Linked DNA regions of Homo sapiens: all the other regions are linked to region 4. Evidence: promoter capture Hi-C in 16 types of primary human blood cells and fetal thymus (Javierre and others, 2016). All regions are on one chromosome and are shown on one strand. The core of a region is centred on a gene start or on the middle of the fragment in contact, and the rest is flanking DNA. Distances in the headings are between cores, read along the strand shown. Region 1 overlaps BCAS3 (BCAS3 microtubule associated cell migration factor). Region 2 overlaps BCAS3 (BCAS3 microtubule associated cell migration factor). Region 3 overlaps BCAS3 (BCAS3 microtubule associated cell migration factor). Region 4 holds the start of TBX2 (T-box transcription factor 2).

What was found. The method cuts DNA at HindIII sites, captures the fragments that hold promoters and counts their contacts. A CHiCAGO score of 5 or more calls a contact.
Region 1: a fragment that was not itself captured here is called in contact with the fragment with the promoter of TBX2 in region 4 in 1 of 17 cell types (megakaryocytes); the score reaches 6.1 in megakaryocytes.
Region 2: a fragment that was not itself captured here is called in contact with the fragment with the promoter of TBX2 in region 4 in 2 of 17 cell types (M0 macrophages and megakaryocytes); the score reaches 5.4 in M0 macrophages.
Region 3: a fragment that was not itself captured here is called in contact with the fragment with the promoter of TBX2 in region 4 in 1 of 17 cell types (M2 macrophages); the score reaches 5.7 in M2 macrophages.

What each region holds. Positions count from the first base shown.
Region 1 is chr17:60,872,786-60,875,485 of GRCh38, reverse strand. It overlaps BCAS3 (BCAS3 microtubule associated cell migration factor), which reads right to left. Exons shown (of 24, transcript NM_017679.5): 9 at 748-824. Among named protein-coding and RNA genes, the nearest start is that of BCAS3, 200 kb to the right of the region's middle. The HindIII fragment of the contact is 1,435 bases long and covers 537-1,971 here.
Region 2 is chr17:60,849,832-60,852,531 of GRCh38, reverse strand. The region is part of intron 7 of BCAS3 (BCAS3 microtubule associated cell migration factor); the gene reads right to left. It also overlaps the pseudogene HMGN1P28. Among named protein-coding and RNA genes, the nearest start is that of BCAS3, 170 kb to the right of the region's middle. The HindIII fragment of the contact is 905 bases long and covers 948-1,852 here.
Region 3 is chr17:60,825,285-60,827,984 of GRCh38, reverse strand. All of the region lies in intron 7 of BCAS3 (BCAS3 microtubule associated cell migration factor), which reads right to left. Among named protein-coding and RNA genes, the nearest start is that of BCAS3, 150 kb to the right of the region's middle. The HindIII fragment of the contact is 2,594 bases long and covers 37-2,630 here.
Region 4 is chr17:61,398,442-61,401,141 of GRCh38, reverse strand. TBX2 (T-box transcription factor 2) reads right to left here and starts at 1,299. Exons shown (of 7, transcript NM_005994.4): 1 at 571-1,299. The coding sequence starts at 965. TBX2-AS1 (TBX2 antisense RNA 1) reads left to right here and starts at 1,536. Exons shown (of 2, transcript NR_125751.1): 1 at 1,536-1,903. RefSeq lists a cis regulatory region at 1,215-1,226 and promoters at 1,215-1,462, 1,082-2,342. The HindIII fragment of the contact is 11,976 bases long and covers 1-2,700 here.

The DNA.
Region 1 (2,700 bases), core at 5-2,504, 530 kb after region 4:
GAAACTGCTAAATTGCTTTCTTTGAAAATGTGCCAACTTCTATACTGATTCTGCCAATATATTTTCCAAGGCTTTATGTGTTTACATTTTTTTCCATCATACAGAAAATCTGTAAGTTGACCCAAATGAGGACTTACCACAAATTCTCCTATTAGAAAATCTCAAGCTGCCAAATACTCCCACAGAAAAGCTGCAAATATTATCAATTTACAAAAACAAACAAAAGTTTTAAAGGAAATTGTGCTTACAGCTTTATAAGTACATAAGTTTATTTAACAGTATTGAAGATTTTTGAACACTCTTTTAAAATATAAGTCCTTATTCGAAAAATATATTTTTTTCACCTTTTGGTTAAATGACAGATACTAATGTTAGTAGAAACAAATTTTGCTCATATGTAAAGGTATAATGTATAAAAGTACGGTATGTTAAGCAATTTAACAACTGCTTTGAAAGTATGAAACAGCTATATGAAACTAAATCACAAACTCAAGGATAGTATGTAAGGAGAAAGTGAGGTAACCCACAACAAAGCTTGCTTAGTAATATAAAGAAAATGTGTTGGAAAGTTGAAAATATATATCATACAAGAATATTACTCAATGAGAATAGCCACAGAATCACAAGAAAATCATCAAAATTGAAAACATTAAGTACTGTTGAGAAAATTACAGTTAGTTTGCTGATTGTGTCAAGTAAGTAGTATAAACCCAAAGGCATAAGAAGGGAAAAAAAATTGGTACATACTTGTAACAAAGAATTTCTTCGTGAAAGTACAGCTATCAAAGGCAGCAATTTTCTCCTGCAAGACTACGACAAGGATCCTAAAATTAGAGAGAGAAAAAAAACAGAAAGAAAAAAAGTGAATGTGAAATTCTGTAAGTGGAATCAGAAATGCATTATATCATCTAGATGAAAACAAGTGCCTACTAATACAATTTTAAAATTAAACATTTCCTATAATATTTAGGCTAGAAACTTCTGCCTCTTAAAATGTGTAAAAATATAAACCACAAAATCCTATATATAAATAAGATAGAGATGACTAGAAGAAAAGTGATGGAAGAAAAAACTACCACCTCAAAAAATGTTTGTCTTTTAATAGTTTTGTTTCAGCCAGGCATGGTGGCTCATGCCTACAATCCCAACATTCCTGGAGGCCAAGGCAGAAGGATCACTTGAGCCCAGGAGGTTGAGACCAGCCTGGGCAACAAAGGAAGACCCTGTCTCTATAAGAAATAATACAAATAAACTAGCCAGGTGTGGTGGTGTGAGCCTGTAGTCCTAGTTACTCAGGAGGCTGAGGCAGGAGGATCACTTGAGCCCAGGAGGTCAAGACTGCAGGGAGCTACGATCACACCACTGCACGCCAGCCTGGGCAACAGCAAGATCTTGTCTCTAAAAATATGAATACACAAAGTAAAGTTTTGTTTTCATTTATTTTTGAATCGAATAAGTCTACAGTAAAGATGGATAAGATCAAGCCCAGCACAGTGTTGCACACCCGTAATCCCAGCTACTCAAGAGGCTGAGGCAGGAGAATCACTTGAGCCCAGGAGATTGAGACCAGCCTAGGCAACATAGTGAGATCCTGTCTCAAAAGGAAATGAAAAAAAAAGAATGGAGAAGATAATAAATTGTTGGCTATCTACTAAAGTGTTTTTCCAGTGATGTTTTAGTCATGGTATTAAAGATAAAATGGATTTATGTAACCCATCACTTTAAGTTTAAATGGCGGATGAATTTCCCAACTGCTACTCATAAATATAAGTCATTTCTGATTGACTCAATATAGTAAAATTCACTAACAATCTGTAAAAGCAGTATTTTTCTCAATGCCCAAGATTTACAGATAATTAGAAAATAATTTAGTTATAAACACTTTTTTAAAGCAAAATTCCTAAAATACATCCAAAGCCACCACTTTATATTGTGCTATCCTTGCAGCATATTAATATAAATAGCCAAGCTTAATATTTACTTCAAAAAATCAAATAGAGATTATAATTGTTACTAAATATTTAACAAACTAATAGCTTATTTTTCAAAATTGGAAGCTGGTAAATCTGAGCAACAGATGCTAATATGAGTATAAAAAAAGGAAAATGTATTATTTCATATGCATGCTTTATTAATTTTGTTCATCTTTAAAAACAACAATTTCATTTACTGATGCAGAATAATTCTAATGAGTGACTACTGTTAGATCCTTGCAATTTTTTTTTCTAGCTGGGCCTGTTAAAAACTTTTCTCTATATATTTTACTGGGTTGCTTCTTACTAATAAGTGATAATTTGCTATATATGTGTATGTGTACTCTGAATACACAAAAAGGTAGAGATAATATCCTTATAAAGGTGATAATATCAAATTTTAGAATTACTCAATTGTAAATTCCATTTCTGTTCTGTTACTATACTAAAGCCTCAGACCACCTTGCCTACATGTTATATCAACTTAATACCCTTTTAATGCCCTGATAGAAGAAAAGGCATTTCCATATCTAATTACCAATGTCTGTACTATTCCTCTACACACAGCGTTTGACAGAAAATATCAAATAATGAAACACACACACAGCCACAAAAATGCACCATTATTAAGAGTCAATGGAACCAAAGAGAAAGTACTTATGGGGTGTGTGTGTGTGTATGTGTGTATATACATACAGATATATACATACAGATATACACATACAGA
Region 2 (2,700 bases), core at 151-2,650, 550 kb after region 4:
TTTAAAGTTATTCCAGTGACTTTCCAGCTTAAATTTGGAAGCAAATTTTCCTTAAGAGGACATCAAGTACCAGTATCTTCACAATTTGATAAGCTGTTACACACATCCCACCAATTCACAACTGAATAGCATGTATACTACATATTCAATTTTTTAATCTTTCACAGCACAGTAACAAAGTTATTAGGAAAACAGGACAACCACAACCAACGATGTTACAGAGTGGACACAATTCTGACAGGGAGAGCCATAATCAAAGAGTGGTTTTCTTTAGGAAACAATTCTACTAAAAAACAACATGGGTGCAGCACACCAACATGGCACATGTATACATATGTAACTAACCTGCACATTGTGCACACATACCCTAAAACTTAAAGTATAATAAAAAAAAAAACCACGGGAATAGAAGTAATTTAAAATGTTCAAGACATTAAATGCAGGACTGACTCCATATTGCCATTTAATATGCTTTGTATTATAGGATATGAAAACTATCCCCCATCTATGAAATGTTAAGCTGACACCCAAGACAGTCAAAGCTTCCCATAATTCAATATCCCACACTATTTTCTGGTTGTACCAAAAAATAAACAACCAGCAAATGATTTCACCTCTTAAAAAAAAGCATTTACACTTAAAAAATGGGATGAGGTGAGATTCCCTTCTTAAAAATGTTTCTAGAGCTACTAAAAAACTTGCATTTACAAAATAGTTGATAAAAATATTCCTCTGGATTGTACAAGAAGGGAGACAGGGACCACTGATAAGACATGGTATATGGTATTAATCAGACTTGGCTTCTTTCTCTCCTGCTTCATCAGAGGCTGGACTCCCCTCAGTTTTCATTTCCCCCTTTTCTGCAGGTAAATCTTCTTTAGTTTCTTTCAGCCTGTTTTCCCTTTGCTCCCCTTTGCCCTTTTATTTGTACTTCCTCGTTTCAAGCTTTAACCCAAGTTTTGGGTAGAAATTATTCACCCCGTGAAGAACATGTAGAGCTTTACAGATGGTGGTTTCAATGCTTTGCTGCTGCCTTTTTCGGCTTCGCTTCCATTTTTGCAGGAGCAAGTTTAGCTGACAACCGCGGCGATCTCCTCTTGGCCTCTTCCTTGGCGGCCCCTTCGGTGGAGCTGACCTTCCTCTCGGGCATCCTGGTGGCGGGGAGGACGTGTGCCAGGTGCCTGCGGGCCGCAGCATGCCGAGAGCCTTTGCGAAGCTGGGCTGCCTGGCTGCTGCCACTCCTCCTGCAGCCCGAGCTGCTGAGACCCTTTTGCTCATTTTTTAATAGGATTGTTCATTTTCTTACTGTTCAGGTTTAAGAGTTTTTTAGTTCTTTAGTCAGACGTGTCTTTCACCAATATTTCCTCACCATCTGCAGCCCATCTTCTCACTCTCTTAAAATAATCTTTCACGGAGCAAAAGTTTTTAATTTTAATAAAGCCCAACTTACTGATTTTTTCATTTATGATTGCGCTTTCGGTGTTGTACTTAAGAGGTCATCGCCAAAACTCAAGGTCACCTAGATTTTCTATGTTATCTTCTAGGAGCATTGCCTTTCCATACAAACTTTAGAATTACTTAGTACATATCCACAAAATAACTTGCTTGTATTTTTATAGGAATTGCACTGAATGCATAGATCAACTTAGGAAGAGATGACATTTATATTTTTTTATTTCATGTATCAGTATTTTGTTGTTTTACTCATATAGATCTTTTGCTTGTTTTACACTTAAGTATTTCATTCTTTGTTGCTAATAAAAGTATTATTCAGCAACAAAAAGAAATGAGCCATCAAGCCAGAAAAAGAAATGAGGGAACCCTGAATGCATATTGCTAAGTAAAAGAAGCTTGTCAGAAAAGGTCTAAAATTGGCCGGGCGCAGTGGCTCACGCCTCTAATCCCAGCACTTTCAGAAGCCGAGGCAGGCAGATTACCTGAGGTCAGGAGTTCGAGACCAGCCTGACCAATATGATGAAACCCCATCTCTACTAAAAATACAAAAATTAGCTGGGTGTGGTGGCGGGTGCCTGTAATCCCAGCTTCTCAGGAGGCTGAGACAGAAGAATCATTTGAACTGAGGAGGCAGAGGTTGCAGAGAGCCGAGATCACGCCATTGCACTCCAACCTGGGCAACAAGAGCAAAAACTCCATCTCAAAAAAAAAAAAAAAAAAAAAAAAAAAAACAGTGGTGCCAGGAGTTAGGGGGAGGGAAAAAAGGAGTAATAAGCAGAGTACAGGGAATTCTCAGGACAGAGGAACTATCTTTATGATACTGTAATAGTGGGTACAGAGCATCATACATTTCTCAAATGCCACACAATGTACAACTCAAGGGGTGAAACTTAATATAAACTATGGATATTAGTTGTATCAGTATCAGCACACTGACTGAAACAAATGTACTAGCCACACTAATTTAATGTGTTAATGATGGGAGAAAGTGGATGTATCAAAGAATAGGGGAGTCCAGGCACCAAGTGCAGTGGGTTCCGTCTCTAATCCCAGCACTTTTGGAGGCCAAGGTGAGATGATTGCTTGAGCCCAGAAGTTCAAGACCATCCTGGGCAATGTAGCAAGACCCTATCTCTACAAAAAATAAAAAATCAGCGAGGCACGGTAGCACGCCTGTAGTCCCAGCTACTTGGGAGGTTGAGGCAGAAGGATCACTTCAGCCCAGGAGTTCAAGACTACATACAA
Region 3 (2,700 bases), core at 84-2,583, 570 kb after region 4:
TTAGTTGTTTTATGAACTGGTTCTAGATGGAAAGCTTTACTTTTTGGTTAAGTTGTAGAGCAGAAGAAAAAACAACTTTGAACTCAATACCTTTACCTTTATATTTTTAACTGTATACTAAAGTCACTTTGAACTATGTGACAGCAAAGTATTTCCCAAAAAAACCTCATTACAAAGTGAAGATGGCACTGCTACTCGGGAAGACTTATTACATAGAAACACGCTTCTTCTACAGGGGGAGGAACAGGAAGGGTGCATTACAAAGAAACATGAGAAAACTATTGTGGGTGATGGATATGCTCATTATCTTGATTGGAATGTGATGGCTTCATGGACATATACAGATGTCAAAATTTATCAAACTGTACACTTTAAATATATGCCGTTCATCATATTTCCATATACCTCAATAAAGACACACACAAAAATACACACACATGTAGCTTTATACTATATGAGCTTCTACTGGGAATATGAACACATTACCATTTTCCAATGAAAGTAAAGACCTCTAGATGCAGTACTCGGTTAGGCAATGAAGACTGGCCAATCTGTAGCACAAGCACCAGATAAGCTGGGTACAGCCCTATTTCTCGAACAGTCATAGAGGCAAAACTCCCACTCAAAGAAAGTATATAAATATAAATGAAAAGAAATTCCTGGTGAAGAGTGATATCTAACTATCCTTAATACCTTCCTGACCCAAATAGTATGAGGCACACCTAACATGTATCAGGATGTAATCAATACTTGAAAACAGTGCCTCATTGAATTCACACAAGAACCAATCACAGCAGTTTTATATAAGCACTGCTTTACAAATAAGGAAAGTGAGCCTAAGAACTGTTGAGTAATTTAGTTTACACAGCTAGTAACTCACAGCTAGGTCTATGTGACTCCAAAACCCTTGTTAGTTCCATTATTCTATATTTTCATCCATGGATTCAGGAATATCAATAAATATTATGGAGTATAAACCTTACGTTAAACCTACATATGAAAAAAATTATCAAATACAAAATCATATTTGTATCCATTAAACAGAAATATCACTACAAGCAGAGTTCCTGTTAAATTGCAAAAGCTGCCACTGAAGGCCTAATATCATCCACGTTATCATTATGCCAGTATTTGTTTTGTGGGCTTCTTTCTTCAGATATACATTATAGACTACTATCTTCTGGTGATCTTTCTTTATGTCCCATTTCTAAGTACTCCTGTTAAATTTCCAGGCAAATAGCTCAGGAGAGATGAGAAGAAAGACAAGAATTAGATGTAGCTCATGGAAAACATACCTCTTTGCAACATTGCTACATGAAATATATGGTAGTAAAATGGTTAGGGAGAGAACCCCATTTTAATAAATATGTGGCCAATTTTTATTCTTAAGTTTAGAATCAGACAGTATAGAAGCAAACCTTTCACAAATATTTTCTTCTTTTTTACCTTACCAGCTGCAATGGTCTGAATGTGTCCCCCAAAATTCATATGCTAAATTTTTGAATTGGACCAGCTATAGTGGTGGCTCACGCCTGTAATCCCAGCACTTTGAGAGGCCGACACGAGAGAATCACTTGAGCCCAGGAATTTGAGGCAACATGGCAAAACCCCATCCCTACTAAAAATACAAAAAATTAGCTGCACATGGTGGTGCACTCATGTAACCCCAGCTACTCAGGAGGCTGAGGCTTGAGAATTGCTTGAAACCGGGAGGTGAAGGCCGCAGTAAGACGAGATTACACCGCTGCGCTCCAGCCTGGGCAACAGAGCGACACTCTGTCTCAAAATTAATTAATTAATTAATTAATCAATCAAAAATAAAACTAGCCAGACGAGGTGGCTCATGCCTGTAATCTCAACATTTTGGGAGGCCAAGGAAGGAGGATCACGAGGTCAGAAGTTTGAGACCAGCCTGGCCAACAAAATGAAACCCTGTTTCTACTAAAAATACAAAAAAAAATTAGCCAGGCATGGTGGCGGGCTCCTGTAATCCCAGCTACTTGGGAGGCTGAGGCAGGAGAATTGCTTGAACCTGGGAGGCGGAGGTTACAGTGAGCTGAGGTCACACCACTGCACTCCAGCCTGGGTGACGGTGCGAGACTTCGTCTCAAAAAAAAAAAAAAAAAACTGAATCCCCAGAGATAGTATTAAGAAGTGGGGCCTTTAGGAGGTGATTAAGTCATGAGGGCAGAGCTTTCCCAATCTCATGAATGGGATTAGCAACCTTACAAAAGAGGTTGCAGAGAACACCCTAGGCCCTTTTTTGCCCTTCCACCATGTGAGGACATGGAGTTCAAGGTGCAACCTTGGAAGCAAAGACTGAGCCTTCTTCACCAGACACCAAACCTGCCACTGCCTTGATCACAGACTTTCCAGCATCCAGAACTGTTATTTATAAATTATTATAAATAATAATTATTTATAAATTATTATAAATAATTATTTATAAATTATTATAATATTTATAAATTATTATAAATAATTATTATTTATAAATTACCAAGTTTGTGGTATTTTGTTACAGTGCAAGGAACAAACTAGGACACCAGCATACTCTGACACAAAATCTTATAAAGCCACACATGAGATTCGGAGATGTGGTGAAAGCACAAGGTGGCCTATGTTAAGCTTTAAGCTCTTTTAACCTATTATCTATATTTTCAAAATGTATATTACTAAGATATGTATATAATGAAATAA
Region 4 (2,700 bases), core at 50-2,549:
TTCAGGCTTTAAGGCCTGGGGCGGCGGATGCGTCCAGGGCTCGGATGCCCGCGGTGGAGAAAGGGCTCCCAGCCCGGTGAGGCGGAGGGCTCGGCTGACCCGGGGCTCGCTGCCAGGAACCGAGCAACCAGCGTGGGGTTAGCTGGGCCCAGGTCCCACTAGGGGCTTCGGGGTCGGAGCAGAGTCTGAGAGAGGCTGAATTTCCCCCGAGCTCGGAGACGGACCCGGACGCAGAAGAGCGAGAGCGCGGGGCGGAGGAGACCGCCAGGGCCAAGCCGCGGGGCCTCCTCTGCGCTGGGACTCAGAACGGTTGGGGCTATTCTTTAGCAGTATGTTTTCGTTTTATTTCATTCGGAGGATTTTAGCGTTTTTGTTTTAAAAAAAAATCGCTCCGGTGCCAAACGAGAAAAGTCAACTTGGTTGTCCGTGGGAGCGAAGCGTGGCGTCAGGGCCAGAACCTGGAGCCGGGAGCCGGGAGCCGGGAGTCCCCAGCTCTGCTCTGATCCGTGCAGTCCCGTGCCCCAGCCCGCCCGCCCGCCCGCGCGCCTTCCAGCCGGCCGGCAGCCCTACCTCCCGGACTTGGTGATGACCATCTCCGTGCCTAGCTTGTGGAACTGGTCCCACAGCTCCTTGGCCTCCAGCGTCACCTTGGGGTCGTCCTCCACCTCGTCCTCGGGCTCCAGGCTCTTGAGGGAGCGCAGATGCGCGGCGGGCGGGTGCGGGCCCAGTGCCGAGACGTGCAGCCCCGCCTCGGCCGCTGCTGCCGCCGCCGCCGCCGCGGCCGCCGCCCCCGCCAGGCCCGGGTCGGGCAGCGGCTTGGCCAGCGCGCCGGGCGGCAGCGCGAGTGCCGGGAAGAAGGAGGGCTGCGCCGCCGCCAGAAAGGCGGACATGGGGAAGTCGGCGGGCCGTGGCGCGTGGAACGGGTGGTAAGCCATGGCGCTGGCCGCCAGCGCCGGCTCTCTCATCGGGACATCCGGCCCAGGCGCCCGGGGGCCGGGGCCGGGGCCGGGGGCGCGCGGCTCGGACCCCCGGCCCGGGCGGCGGCGCGCGCGGTGGACGGACGACCCGGGTGGCGGGCGCAGCAGCTGCTCCTCGGGGCTTCCCGTCCGGCGCACCGCAAGGGGCACCCGGCTCTGTGCGCGGGGGCGGCGGGGGCTCTGCGCGGGGCCGGGCTGGGCCGGGCTGAGCTGGCCCGCTCCGGCGCCGGGGACCACGCGCGACTGGTTAGATCTTGTCGTGATCTCTGGAAAACTGTGACTATCTCACATGTCCTGCCCAGCTCGGATCCCCTGCGCTAACGAGCCAGGCCCCCCTTGATTGCTGATTTTACGCTTTTTGGACCAATTGTGGGTCTCCGGGGGCGGGGTTTTGACAGCTCAGGCCAAGCTCCGGCCGGGAGGGGGGGCCTGGGAGAAGGTGTCGGAAGCCTCAGCAGTAAGAAAACATGTCAACAGAATAAAATATTAACCAATGACGGGCCGCCGGGCCCCGAGACCCCTCCTCCTGCCCCGGCCCCCACCGCCCGCCCGCGCCTGCGGCTGCCTGCGCCGGACTGGAGAGCGCGGAGGGCCGACCTGACCCGCCGAAAGGGCCTGAGGCGAGGGGAGCCCGGGTCCCGGGGCCTTGGGGAAGGACCCGCAGCCGCACGCCGGCCCCAAGTGCAAAGCATTGACACGACCCCGAGCGGAGAGGGGGCGCCCTCCTTCTCCCGCGCCCAGAGGCCCGGCCGCTCTGGCCCGAGCCCCAGCCTGGCCTCCGACCCAGCTCCGGGTCGTGGCGCCGCCTGGGGGTCCCTGCGCCCCGGAAAGAGACAGCAGGCACTGGAAAGCGAGGCCGGTGGGCGGGCGAGTCGGGAGGCTCGGGCGGCCGAGGTCCGGGAGCGGATCCCAGGTGGCGGGAGCTGGTGAGTGGAGCCATGGCCGAGCCCTGCTGGGGCCGGCGCGGGCGGGAGCGGGACGCGGCCTTGCGCTGGGGAAACGCGGGGACCCCCTACCCGCGCCCGCCTTCACCGGAAGACTCGGAAGGAACCTGGAGTTCTCCGCAGGCCCGGGCCCCGCCCTGAGCTTTCCAGCGGCCGGGAGGAGCGGATCCTCGGGGCCAGGAAGGTGAGCGCACCTTTCGCTGAGCACAGGGCGGCACCGCGCGGGCGGACCCCGGATTCTCCACCCGCGACCCAACGAATTTTCGCCCTATCCGGTACCGGAGACGAAAGTCTCCTTCTTCCGAAATACCGGCTTCCTCTCTTCGCCCTGCCAACCACTTTTTTAGTTTCTTCTCATCTCTCGGAAGCGCACGTCTCCTAAGTTAAGGAGTGCTGAGTAACGCGTGAGGGAGTTGGGGTGTCTGCGAGCACCTGTGATTGAAGCCCCCTCTTCTGTGATCAGTCTTCGTTTTCTGTCTTCCGGCAGCCTCAGTTTCCCCCCCATGAAGTGATGGTGTGTGTGTGTGTGTGTGTGTGTGTGTGTGTGTGTGTGTGTGTGTCGGGCCCCGTGTGGTGCCCTCTGTGCGCAGCGAGAGCTATAACTCAAGGTGTGCACGGGGAGAGTGAAGCGACCACGCACCTGCTTCCAATCGGGCTCGGGCGCGAACACTCAGGCTGATTCCTGAAGGTCGTTTTCTGAAGGAAAAGACAGAGCATGCACTAGCCACGGGTGACATTCCCACCCGTACAACCGCGTGGTGGGCGCGTACATCCAACAT